2 separate regions of the Homo sapiens genome follow, and region 1 is linked to region 2. The links are contacts of gene promoters, found by promoter capture Hi-C in blood cells and fetal thymus (Javierre and others, 2016). All regions are on one chromosome and are shown on one strand. Each heading gives the region's core, a stretch centred on a gene start or on the middle of the fragment in contact. The rest is flanking DNA. Distances are from core to core; before and after follow the strand shown.

Region 1 (6,927 bases), core at 4,268-6,767, 770 kb before region 2:
GTAAAACATGCTTTCCACACTTAGGTTTAGGTTTTAACGTGATTACTCTTGGGTGAACTTCCAAATGTAAACAATAGTTGATGTCAAGAACTCAAGTGAAAGAATCTTTAAACATATTCAGAGTTTTCTCTTTGTACCTTTTCTGGGAAAGTGCTATGCAGATTTTTAAGAAATTGAAAATGGGCTGGGTGGAGTAATCCTACTTTACATGGTATTTTGAGAAAGGCTAATTGTAAGAATCTGGTTCCAATGTATTGCTACCTTTTGTGCCACATTAACATAAGCCAAAGGAATATGCACACACACAAACAAAAAACACAAAATTTTTGCCTATCTCTTTTGGTGTAATTTGACCACAGGCTGTTCACCTCACTTCATAGGGTCACACAAGTATCTCTGTGCCAACAGTTGTAGGACATGCACCATTTCCTGGGAAGATAACCGGGTTTATATTCTGAACATCAAAAAAACAAAAAACAAACAAACAAAACCAACCATATCACTACATGAATATGGCCAATTATCCACTGGAAGTTTGAGTATTTTAACTCTTGAACTGTTTCTGCACTAGGTGGAAGACATGACCCCATTGGGCACATGTGTTAAAACTTAAGATTTCATGAGTAGGCATTATTGATTTCTCTGTGAATGTAATTTTTTTTCCACTTTAAGAGGTTTGTATGCCACATCAAATAAACGATCATACCACAGTTTCTAAAATAAGATATTTTAAAGTCAACTCTTATTCAATGTATGCACAGTACCAATCAATCTTCTACTTGGAAGATCATTTTCTAATGGGTACTTATGGGCTGGGAAAGCTATCCCTGGGGTTTGGCAAAGGCCAAAAAAAGCAAGTGTAGTAACTCTAGCTCCTGAGAATATCTAATTGGCAAAGTAATCAGCCCTTAAATCATCAGAAGAATAAACTCCTAATAATTCCTTCTAAATAATAATGGATTTTCTGCATCACAAGTATTCAAGTGATGGAGCATATCAGTGTATTTTACTTAGATGTAGGAACAAAAAAATCAGAAGGAAATATCTGTCGGTGGATATGGTTTCTATCTTGAACTCCTAAAATTTACATCTCAAGGGCCAGCTCCCTGGCAGGAGTGAGGCAGGGTGTCCTATTTCTGGGCACAGCTCTACGAAGCAGCGACCTGATGTGAGTATGAGTTACAGACATTAAAACCAACTTTTCCTCTACACCAATACCCCGTCCCTCCAGAAATCTTAATAGGCTTTTGAGAGCCTCCATTTAGAGCCGGCTGCATAAAATGATCCTTTGATGAAAAGGGATTGGAACAAGGGTTAAAGCAGACATTGAAAGGTTACTGTAGAGGGCACAGTGTTCATACAACCCTCCTTTAATATGTGCGGTGTGCACCTGTGATAAGATGATTCATTACATGGGGCCTCTCTTTGACAAGCTCCATCGTTCAGCCCTCGGGGTTCTGACGGGACAATACCACACCCGCCCAGGAAATAAAACAAGGTCAGCTTTTTTTCCCTGGAATGTAGACAGAGACGATTTAGCTTATAATGCATCTTTGTTTACTCTTTATGTAAAATAAAAACAGGGTTCAAGACATCAAAATGCCTGCTCTCCACAGAACAGGCCAAGCAGGGAGTATGCAAACACACTGCTGGGCAAATAGATAAGGCTGGGGGGAAAAGTCTTTGTGAGAATGCTAGCTCCTTCTCCCTTGGATTTCATGATCAGTCACACTGGAGAACCAAGTGTCCTAACCACTGGGCTCTGAGACAGGCCTTCAGATGGAGGGTACCCCGACATCATCAGCTTCATCTCGTTTGCTTTTTATGCAGCTTTTGGGTTTATTGGGTTGTCTGAAGCTCTTCCAGGATCTAGTATGAACATTATGTGGCACATTAGCAGCGTTGAGGGGACAGACCCTCTCTCATGACATGAGGAAAGTTTACTACCCCTGACATACTGAAGTAAATCAACAAGCATGCCAGAGGTTGCCTGGCTTCCGTAGGAATTGGCAGGAGGCCAGGGACCATGGGGCTGACTTGCAATTGGCTTCATTCTAACTCACCCCTTTTCTTTGTTGCTTTTACAAGACTTCTTCATCACCTTCCCATACATTCAAAAATTGGCTTTGTTAAGACTAATTTTGATATCTCTCTCACAGCAATTATGGAAGGAAACTGATCAGTTTCCCTCATTATCCAAGTTTTTCCTTAAGTGAAAAGTAAAAAAAAGCAAAACTGACATTTTATTTTTAAGATGTAACTTTTTTCTTTTTGAAAGAATGCCCCCTGTAATGCAAAGTAACTTCTTCATATAAGGTCATAACATGAGTCATAGTACAGAGATAAAAACAAAATAAAACTTTGGCAATCTAGAGGTAGGAAAAAAATCTTGCTTCTAAAACATAGAAACACCTCCCAACCCTTCTCCTATTCTTGACATTGCTAGTAAACATTATTTATTTGCCTCGAATAGATGCGGTTACATATCACTGTCATGCAAAAGAAATTCAATTCCTTTCCGAGTTCAATCTGCCATAAAAATGCACTCTTGTTCCCATCTCCCACTCACCTGTCCTTGTGCATTAGTAACTAGTTGACCTGTGACCCCCTGAAGACTGGAGAGGGCATTGCCAAAGGCCTGTGAGCTTGCTATGGAGCTCATGGCTGCTGCAGCCGCTGCAGCCTGACTTGCTAGTGGATTATTAACCAGCTGCAAAGAGAGAAAAGATCACCGTGAAAACCACCGAGAGGCACAGGCACAGCACACGGACACAACATTGACTCTGGGGAGGTAGTTCTCGCCTCAATTCGCTCATGCAAAGGGCCTGGAACCCACCGGAGGGGCGTGGCGAACATTCCCCCGGAAGCTCTGGGGTAGGGGGATGATGGAAACGAGGCTGGAAGGAAAATGTTGGGGAGCTTGGTGGAGTCTGGGTTTAGGGCTAGCCCAGGAGGGAACGAGCCTGAACTTCAGGGGTGAGGTGGGCTGTTAGGACCTTCTGGGGTGGAGAAATGATTTCGCAGAAGCCCTCTAGACTAAATAAAACTCAGGAAATATCTGCTTTCCCTGAGGTAACCAGACAGAATAGGAGAGTAAACAGGATGGGGATCGGGGAAAGAGAGGAATAGATTTTTAGGATTTCTAAGAATGAATTTATCATTTCCATTTGTGAATTGCAGTTTCTTTCAGGGACATCGAGCGAGGCAGGTGTTCCACCCCACTTTCTTGTTTGAGGGGAGAAGGAAACCAAAGCCAGTAGAAATGGAATTTATGGCCTCCGTGCTCTCAGAGGGTGAGTCTAGGGCTGCGACAATTTTGGGGCTTTAACCTAAACCACAGGATTCAATGCCAATGAGAAAGGTTGTTCGATGAATGGTCAGATTGACAACTGCTTGCTGTTGTAGCTGATACATGGTCTTTCCTCAGCCTCTTTCCTGGGACAAGAGTGAAACAGGGAGGAAGAAAGAGAGAGTGGGAGAGAGACCTGCCGGGGAGGAGGTTATGGCTGCCAAAATCTGTTTTTCCATGGAGACCAATTCAATATTCTCCTTCCTGCCAATTTTCCACGCCACAGGTTTTCAGGCCTTCTGACCATGAGGCAGAAGTGTGGCTTCAACTAAAATCTGCATTTAGGTTAATGACTAGATATAAATTCAAGAAACATTTAAACTATTTTCACAGTATTGGTTTTGATACATGAATTTCATTTGTATTTATTCTAGGGTGTTATTTTTTTCCCCATATAGTTTCTCTCAAGTACAACAATTGTTGTGTTGGAAATAATGCATTTTCCATCACCAGTTCCCACATCCATGAAATTCCTGCATTTTTTCAGAAACCTGCCACGACTAAGACTAGGTGGAAAAAAATTAATGCCATACCTAATTCAAGTCTTGGAAGCTCTTCTAAAAATGCCACTTTTAAAACTTTCCTTTCTTCATTTTTTGTCTCAGTCTCTCTTCTCTCTCTCTCTTTTCCTTCTTCCCTTCAAATCATATTTTATTTCTTAATTTCTTTGGAAATTTGCCTAGAGATTATACTATCTTATGAAGAAGGAAATATTAATTATCAGAGAAAACATCAAAAAGGACAGGAATTTAATAACTATTTTTTCATTAATGTGGTATCTTTATCTTATCGGTTTCTTTATTCATTTATAACTAAATTTCACACAACTGTTCTTCAGTAATTCTGCTGACCCAGCACATTTTTTAAAAAAAATGAGAATCCATTTTAAGTTGATTACTTTATGTCTTTTGCCTTTATCTCTCTCCTAAAAGACAATAATGATTTTCTTTTTAAGGAGAAAAAAATTCTCACTCATCAGCCTAAAGAGAAACCCTGTCTTATCCCAGATTACCACCATGGGATTTAAAATTCAGGTTGGTCTTGATTTTGATTTTTGGAGTATGTCTTTAAAGGATAGGTGGGGTAACTATGCATCCAGAAGTAACTCTCCTTGTTTGTAGACTACCTAAAGTGAGAAGAGTTCATAATGTGTTCTTTTTTTTTTTAACTTCTGAAGTGAGAAGACTGCTTGGGAAATACTGTCTCCGAACTGCCGGTACAGACACTGCCCATTGGTACAATATTTTTAGGTCATCTGTCAATTGCCATGTTTGCATTTCTTTCATGCAATACAAGTTGAAATCATAATGAATTTCTTGAGTTTCAGGAATATCTCAAAATAAACTTCTTCATCCTCAACAAATGATTAAATTATGTTCAGTTGGATCTTAATGTTGACTATGGATTTGGTCCATGAATTTTGGGTGAACAATTTAAGTATCTACATACAGAATGCTCTCTGAAAAAGATAGACAATTATTTATATTTAATGAAAAGAAAATATTTTTTATTAATTGCAAGGCATTTCCCTAACATCTATGTTGATCAAAAATTCATATAGGAAATTATAGAATTATTCTCTGGATACCAAATAGCATAGATTGAGAATTTCCTACATTTAGGACACTAGTGTGTTGTTCAGATATAGTCCCATGCAGTTTGCTGCAAATTCAGGTATTGCATAAAGGATAAACAATTATTCTGAATACAAAACAAAGTCTCTACTTAAAAGTGGGCTTCTAAGCTTTTGTGTTTTGGGGTCAGAAATGGATATATTTCAACTGCTTTGGATGGCTGCCTTGGCAACCACAAATATATAGGTTTGGCTTATTTTTAATGTTTATTTCCTCTGTATTCTGGTCCTAGCTTAAAACCTAATTTGGTCCTCTTTTTGCTGCCTTTCCCTCTTAATGAAGCAAATGCCAACTCAGATGACTCTTTTACTTCCTACCGTCATTCCAGTAGGTCTTTGTGGAAGTTGTCTGGGTTCTGGGGAGATGCCCTGCTGTTCCTGTAGAACTAGAGCTAGAACCACAGTCACGGAGTGTGGTGTGCACAGACAGTGGGTGCAAGCCAATCTGTAAGCTGACGGCATTCCAGGAGGACCACTGGTGGTGTTGATGGATGTAACTTTATACATACATATCTTTTGGCTTCTCTGTCTGTGACTGCCAAGGCAGGGATGTAATATGCATTAAAATATGTGGGAGGGAAGTGAAGGGGTTGGTCAGGAAACCACACGTGTTCTTCTCATCACCTCGGGTCATGTCACTCTGTATTGTCCCCAGTCATATCATGTTAGCACTGCTCCTATCGATATTTCTTGATTGGAGACTCCGGGTAGATTTGGACAGCAGGGAACCCAGGAACAATAAATGCACATAATGAGCATGTTATTGTTCCGGGACCAACTGGATATTTTGAAGCTGCTGCCAAGTTTATGCCTTCAGATCTTTCACTGCCAATGTACCTAACCAGCAAAGGATGGCCCAAATGAAGTCTGACTGTAATACATGGTCTTGTTTTCAACAGACTAGCTTAAAAGACATGATGAATTCTGGTGTATGCTTGTTGATAAATGTGGAAGCTTTCTAAAGGAAGGATTTGCAGAGGGCTAGAGTTCTTATGTTGTATACAAATGGATTCTGGGCCTTGAATACATCAAGTTCTACTTCTGGAGTCTAAATCCCACTAAGAGAAGCATTGATATCTTAAGACAGTTTTCTCCTCCCTGGAATTTTAGAGAATACAACAACAGAATAATTTTTTGAAGTAGTTTTATGCCAGTGAGGAAGGGCTCCAAGCCTCACATTCCCCTGCTCACCCATTAATGCAGCTGAGGGCATCAGCTCTGAAAACAGACTGCCTTGGTTTGTGACTTTAAGTAAACCACACTTCATTTTCTTAGGGGTAAAATGGGTATGAAAAGAATATCACACACAGGGTTAGGATGAGAATTAAATGAGATAATGCACTCAAAAGTTTTAGATTAATACCTAGCATACATTATTTTCTTAATAAATGGTAGCTAATGTTCTGATGGTTTATACTGTGCATGAAGATTTTGAATTAATCAACTTGGAATTAGAACTCACCTCCATAAATATCTTTTTTCTTTGGAAATAATAGGAACATGGGTAACTATTCCCTATTTTTAGAGCAATTTTATTTTACTTTTTTTTCTTATAAAAAAAGATCAGCTTGAAGAATGTGTAAAAGTATTTTAGAGTAGAGAGCATAAGCAACAAGTATTTAAAACAGGGCTTCATCTGCTTGTCTTGGGCCTGTCCTATTTGATGGGATTAGCTCATCTGTAGAGAAAGTAGTGCCTAGAGTCTGAAGCCAGGGTCAGCAGGTGACAGCAAGAGAAGACATTACCTTATTTATAGTACGTTTTCCTCATCCTTAGTTTGCAACATTCGTTAGGTTTCCATAAGGGCACCCATTTTGGAGTCTAATTCCTGCCTCATGTCAAAATATTGTGAATGAGTCCATCTCACAGTTGCTGATTTGATAGTGAGGGAATGCAGGAAAAAGATTTGCAAAAAAAAAAAATTCCTTTAGGATTTACAGTGATT
Region 2 (6,017 bases), core at 627-3,126:
TAGGACTCATCCAAATTTGCTCAGAACTTTCCCACTGTTAGCACTAAGAGTCCTGTGTCCTGGAAATTCCTTAATTCCTAAGGAAACTGGGGCAGATATTTATCCTAGGGAAATAAGAGCCAAGCACATAGACCAGGTGTTCCAGGTACCTACTGTTTTATAATAAAGCATTATAAAAGTGATCGACTCATAAAAACTGTTTTGTTTGCTCACATTCTGCACTCTGGCTGGGATTAGCTGAGTGGTTCTTCTGCTGGTCTTGCTGATGGTTGCTTGTGTGGCTGCAGCCAGCCAGTGAACTGATTGGAGAATGGGCTCAGCTGGGACATCTTGGCTGCTCTCTCTCTCTCTCTCTCTCTCTGCGTAATCTCAGGGCCTCTCCCTTTCTGTATGGCCTCTCCTTGTTATTTTATTTTATTTTATTTTTGCAGCAGGGTAGCTGAATTAGCTGAATTTCCTATATGGTGTCACAGGAATCCCCAGAGGGCAAAACTTGCCTGGTTTCTAGGTTGGGTGGGTGGGGGGGGGACTGGAATTACCATGGCGTCACTTTCACCACATCTTATTGATTAAAGCTGGCCATAGCATCATTCTAGAATCAAGGTGAGGGGACTACAGGGTGACACAAGAGTGAACACCAGGTGGCAGCTCGCTGAGGTCTACCAATGTAACAGTTTCCCCCAGAGGTACAGTAGGATGCTCACCTGGACTCATAGGATTCACTGTGAGTGACCACTTCTGACCTCTGTTTGCAGGGCACCACCTGACTTCTTCTCCTCACACTCTCAGTGAGAATGGAATATGAATAGTTTGACCACTGGTCAGAGCCAACAAGAGCTCTAGGTGTAGGGCAGGTTTATCCCTATTATTCGTACTTCTCCCAAGCATTAATAAGAATAATAGGGATGGTGAGTCCCTGTTAAGGTTGCCAAAAGGTTTCCAAGGAAGCAACAAGTTAGGGGGGACTGGGTCTTCCATGGTTGATGCGAAGCTATAAGGGACTTGACTGTTCCATGCACCATTTCTTGAAGAGTAGTCTATTCTAAGGTTTCTGCCCAGCACAGGAATTTTGGAGATGACCAAAACACATCGCCTGTCTTCCGGAAGCTGACCTTTCTCAACGCGGACCTCCCCGCCCTGCTAACTCTTGTTTTAAAGTTTAAACAAGTGTCAGCGATGGTCTCTCCCCGCTTTGCTCTCCACACGCCTCTCTCCTGCAGCTCTGACTTCGTTGGTTTCCCAGCCAGGGCCCCTCACTGGGCTGTGAGCCTCCTGAGGGTAGGGCGACCTCCATACCTTCTTCTGCAACACCCAGGGTGTATGGAGGGGCCTCTGTTAGCTGGAAACTTTTGGGAGCAGCAAGGGACCAGCCCCATCAGCTCCACTTCAGAGCAGTTCCAATCCAGCTGGCTTCCACATCCCTAGGGTTCTTCCCTTTTTTGTCTCCCCTATTTCTTTTTTTGCTGGAAAGAATCAGGTCCCCTCACTCTCCCCAAATACAAACTGCATTAAAAGAACCCCCGAGCTGCCCCTGGGCCCAGGGACTTCTGCTAGGCTTGGTTCCCTTTCTCCTCTCGAAACTCTTCTATCATCGAGGAGACAATCTGGCTTCTGGCTTTTCCCTCTCTTTTTCTTGGCCTCTTTCTCTTTCTTCCCCCGCCCCTTCTCCCCATGTCACAGCCAGTCCCGACGCATCCCGCCCCCGCTCTGTCGCTTTAAGCTGGTCCCGCCGCCGCGCCCCGCCCTCACCCCTCCGCGCTCCGCGGCTCCCCGCCGCTTCTCCCGCTCCTCCCTTGCTCGGCCCTCTCCTCCTCCTCCCGCTCCTCCTCCCGCTCCTCCGCGCCGCCGCCAGCCCCGCTGCGCGCTCTGCTCTTCGCAGCTCCCCGGACCCGCAGCCATGGCCGACATCAAGACGGGCATCTTCGCCAAGAACGTCCAGAAGCGACTCAACCGCGCGCAGGAAAAGGTCAGCGGCGGGCGGCCGGGGCTGGGGCCGGGGACGCCAGGCGGGGGCTTGGCCGGAGGGCACCGGCTGCAGCTGTGCGGGGCCCGAGCCTCGGGGTGCGGCGCGCTGCGGAGCGGGGCCGGGGCCAGGGACGCTGGGACGCCCTGCCCTCAGCTCGGTGACTGCCGCAAGGCGCGACCCGGGCGCCGCGGGGAGCGGGTCGGGAGGACGCAGCGCCGGGGACCCGCAGACCCTGGCCCCGGAGACGCCGGATATGTCCAGCTCCGGAGCCGGCCCCGGGTTGCCGCTCTCCTGGCCCCAAGCCAGGCAACAGAAGTAGGAGGTGCGGCAGCTTGCCCGCTGCGCCCGGAGCAGAGCGCATCTCCCTGCGCTCGCATCTCCCCGGGCCGGCTCCCAGCGCGCCCGCAGGCAGCTCGCGGGGACGCGGCCCGCAGATCGGGGCGGGAGATTGCAGCAGCCTTCCTTCTTGCGGGGGATTTTGTGGCTACTTAAGTGCAGCAGACACGAACGATTTAACAGAGAAGCCACCAAAAATCTCCCAGGACCAATAGGGTAGGATCGTGATCACACAGTGCTGTCTGGTGAGTTCTGGAGTTCAAAACAGAGATCTAGATATACACACTTTTAATTTTGGTCTATATGTTTGTGTCCCTTTTGACTCCAGTGTCCTTCTTTAGAAGGTCAAAAATAAATATGACCTGAACCTAATAGTTCCTTTCTGCATATTTCTGCACAAAGAAGGACCTTTTATTGCATTTTAAAAAATCCAGATTGCACAAATTGGGTTCTCTGTTGTTTTGCAAGTCCCTCAGTAAATTGCGCACAGTAATTTATTTTTTTTCCCCAGAGACGTGCATGAATGAAACCCAGGTCCGTAGCAAGCACAGCCCAAAGCAGGTGGAGGGGAGTTGTACCAGGCACCAGGCTTGCCTGGCTTCCCTGGTGACTGCTGTATATGACGGCCCTGAGGTCTTCATTTGTGTCCTGAGCAAAGGACATTTCCTTTATATTGTAGCTTGAGCATTGTACTTGAAAATCAACACCGGCTAATGAGCCCCATGATTGGTATCACTTGAACTGTGTTCTCTTTCACGTGGCAGTATTTTCCGTCCCTAGGATATGGGGTGTTTAGCGTTTTCCTGTTTTACTGGAAGTCAGATTTGCCATGTTGCTCAGGATGGCAATGAATTTCCCTCTTCAGACCCAATCTCAATCTCAGGCTGCCTCCCAGTTCCGGCTGACCATGAGTTGCTGAGCAGAGGGGGCACTGATCCCTTTTGTCCCCAGGCCCAGAGGCTTGGTGGCTGCCTCTAGTCCCTCCCTCCACACATGCACACTCTCCATGCAGTAAGAGGATTGTATTTCTTTTAATATCTACCCAAGCTCATCCTGAACTAAAGTGATCCTCCTCCTGCCTCTCCCTCCGCAGCTGAATTAGCAAGGCTGCCTGCTGCCTTCCAGGCCCGGGTTACTTGTGCAGAAAGTAGCCAGGGATCTGCTGGCTTGGGATCTGGGCCAGGTTTTGTCATCCTTTTTCCACACTTCATTTTACCCACTTGTAGGTACTCCTCCTCCTGCCTTCCAAGTAATTACTTGACTCTTCGGTCTGAGGCTTTTCACTGAATCCACTTTCCATCTGTGAAGGAATTTAGTGATATGGTCTGCCTTTTCACATATTGAATTATTTCTTAATCTAGGTCACCAGCTGTTAATATGCTCAAAATAAATGAAAAGAAAACCTAATCTCTTACGGAGCATTCAAGTCCTGTGAATTGTCAAAACTCACTTTTTCACGATCAAGGTCAAGTGTACTTTATGACTGCAGTTGTGGATGGTGGTCAGTCTTCTATGGGAGCGGGGGTGAGAGACCCTCTTGGGGGTTTCAAGCGTCCTATTTTCTTCACTGGGGAAAGGTGCTGATGAAAAGTGCCTGCCGCACCTAGTATAGAGGTTCAAACACTAAGAGGCTGAGAGTATAGGCTCTTCCCCAGGGTGAGTTCTGCCCCCCTTTCTGAGTCTGTGTAGCATCAGGATATGCTTGGCACAAAGAGAAAAGGGCATGTTGGCATCCAGGTAAAGCAGCCCAGCCCAAATGGAGGCTGCTGGAGAAAGGAAAGCACAGTATGTTACTGTCAGAGGCTCCATTAGACATATCCCCACGTGATTCCCTCTTTCTACACCTTTGGCCTCTTCCTCTTCTCCAGAGAAGACTCTTCATCCCAATAACTATAGACCATATATGTCCCTGAGACCCTTTGCTTCTTGTTTTTACAACCAAATTTTCTTAAAAGAGAGTCCACTCCCTTGACTTTCTTATCATCTGTGCTTCACCTAAAAGCTTGCATATGTTTAGGCTCCAACTGCATGTCTGAAATCACTTTTAGAGGTGACATGGCTTTTTAGGAATTTTAAATACGTTTTTTTCTTACTGAAAGTCAGTGAAGATTCATTGGAGAAAGGCTGAAATGTATTAGTCAGCAGAAAAAAACCACAAGGCTGAAATGTACATATAAGCAGAAAAAAACTCCAGCAAATTACGAAGCACATAATTCTACTACTCGGAAATTTTACTACCATTTGATATGTATCTGAGTAGATCTTTTTCCATGTGTGTATGTATTTATACAACCAAAACAGGCTCATTGCTGTATAGTTGAAGACCTGTTTATTTCACTTCATAATTATGAACATCCTTCTATACATGTACATATTTTCCATCAATATTTTAAATTATTGAACACTATTGGAATGTATGGATTATACTGAATGCCTTATCTTTTGAATATTCATTTTTCCAGTGTTTCTATATGGAAATACAAGTCAGTGAGCAAATTTGTAGGGAGAATGTTTGCACACCTCTTTAATTATCTCCTTAGATAAATTCCTAGAAGAAGACTTATTGCATCCAAGGTTTGCCTATTTTTATTATAGCTAGATTGCCTTCCAGAAAGGTGTACCAATTTACATTCTCATCAGCAGTCCATGAGACACTTGCCAACTCTGGATAATAAAATTTAAAACAATGTTTAGCTATGTCATTGGATAAAATTTGTTCATGATTAATTTCATTTGTTTGATTTTTAAAAAGCAAACTTTTGTGCATTCGTGTTTTTGTTCTTGAATTGTGCTTTTATATTTCTGCCCGTTTTCTGTAGCAATTCTGTCTTGTTATTAGTAAGGGCAAAAACTTTATCAAGCCTAAGGGTTACAACCATTCTTTCTTCCTTTTCTATTTACTTTTAAATTGTTTGGTGATTTCTACTGAGAAAATGTTTTTGTTGATGTTTTATGTATATCTGCTTACATCTATTGGTTGGTTTTGTCTGGTTTCTCTTTTGCGTGGTTGAATTAGTCAGGATCCTGCTACATGCAGGTGTCAGAAAGCTCAACCCAAACTGGCTTAAGGAAAAAAGGAATTTAATTGCTAATAATAATAATATCTAACAATTTATATATGGTTCTTGTACATATAAATTTAGATTAGCTTTTAATGAATAAAAGCTATATATTCACATAAGATATATGAATATCTTACCTATAGTAGCCTATATACATATTCTTATACATATGTATATGTAAAAGTATATGCAGACCATATCTTTCCTTTAGCTTTTTTTTTTTTTTTTTTGAGACAGAGTCTCGCTCTGTCACCCAGGCTGGAGTGCAATGGCGCGATCTCGGCTCACTGCAAGCTCCACCTCCTGGGTTCATGCCATTCTCCTGCCTCAGCCTGCCCAGTAGCTGGGACTACAGGTGCCCACCACCACGCTTGGCTAATTTTTTATATTTTTAGTAGAGATGGGGTTTCACCGTGTTAGCCAGGATGGTCTCGATCTTCCTAGTAGCTGGGACTACAGGTGCCTGCCACCACGTCCGGCTAATTTTTTTTTTTTTTGTATTTTTAGTAGAGACGGGGTTTCGCCATGTTTGCCAGGATGGTCTCAATCTCCTGACCTCGTTATCTGCCCGCCTCAGCCTCCCAAAGTGCTGGGATTATAGGTGCGAGCCACCGCGCCCGGCCTCCTTCAGCATTTTTACAGAACTCTTTGGT

The links. Contacts are between HindIII fragments. The CHiCAGO score rates a contact against its expected background, and 5 or more counts as called.
Region 1: a contact is called between a fragment that was not itself captured here and the fragment with the promoter of AMPH in region 2, in 1 of 17 cell types (M0 macrophages). The highest score is 5.3, in M0 macrophages.

What each region holds. Positions count from the first base shown.
Region 1 is chr7:39,402,383-39,409,309 of GRCh38, reverse strand. It overlaps POU6F2 (POU class 6 homeobox 2), which reads right to left. Exons shown (of 10, transcript NM_001370959.1): 6 at 2,570-2,710. It overlaps POU6F2-AS1 (POU6F2 antisense RNA 1), which reads left to right and starts at 2,964. Exons shown (of 4, transcript NR_046711.1): 1 at 2,964-2,976; 2 at 3,191-3,293; 3 at 4,305-4,383; 4 at 4,527-4,712. The HindIII fragment of the contact is 843 bases long and covers 5,096-5,938 here.
Region 2 is chr7:38,627,232-38,633,248 of GRCh38, reverse strand. It overlaps AMPH (amphiphysin), which reads left to right and starts at 1,876. Exons shown (of 21, transcript NM_001635.4): 1 at 1,876-1,966. The coding sequence starts at 1,898. The HindIII fragment of the contact is 9,553 bases long and covers 1-4,306 here.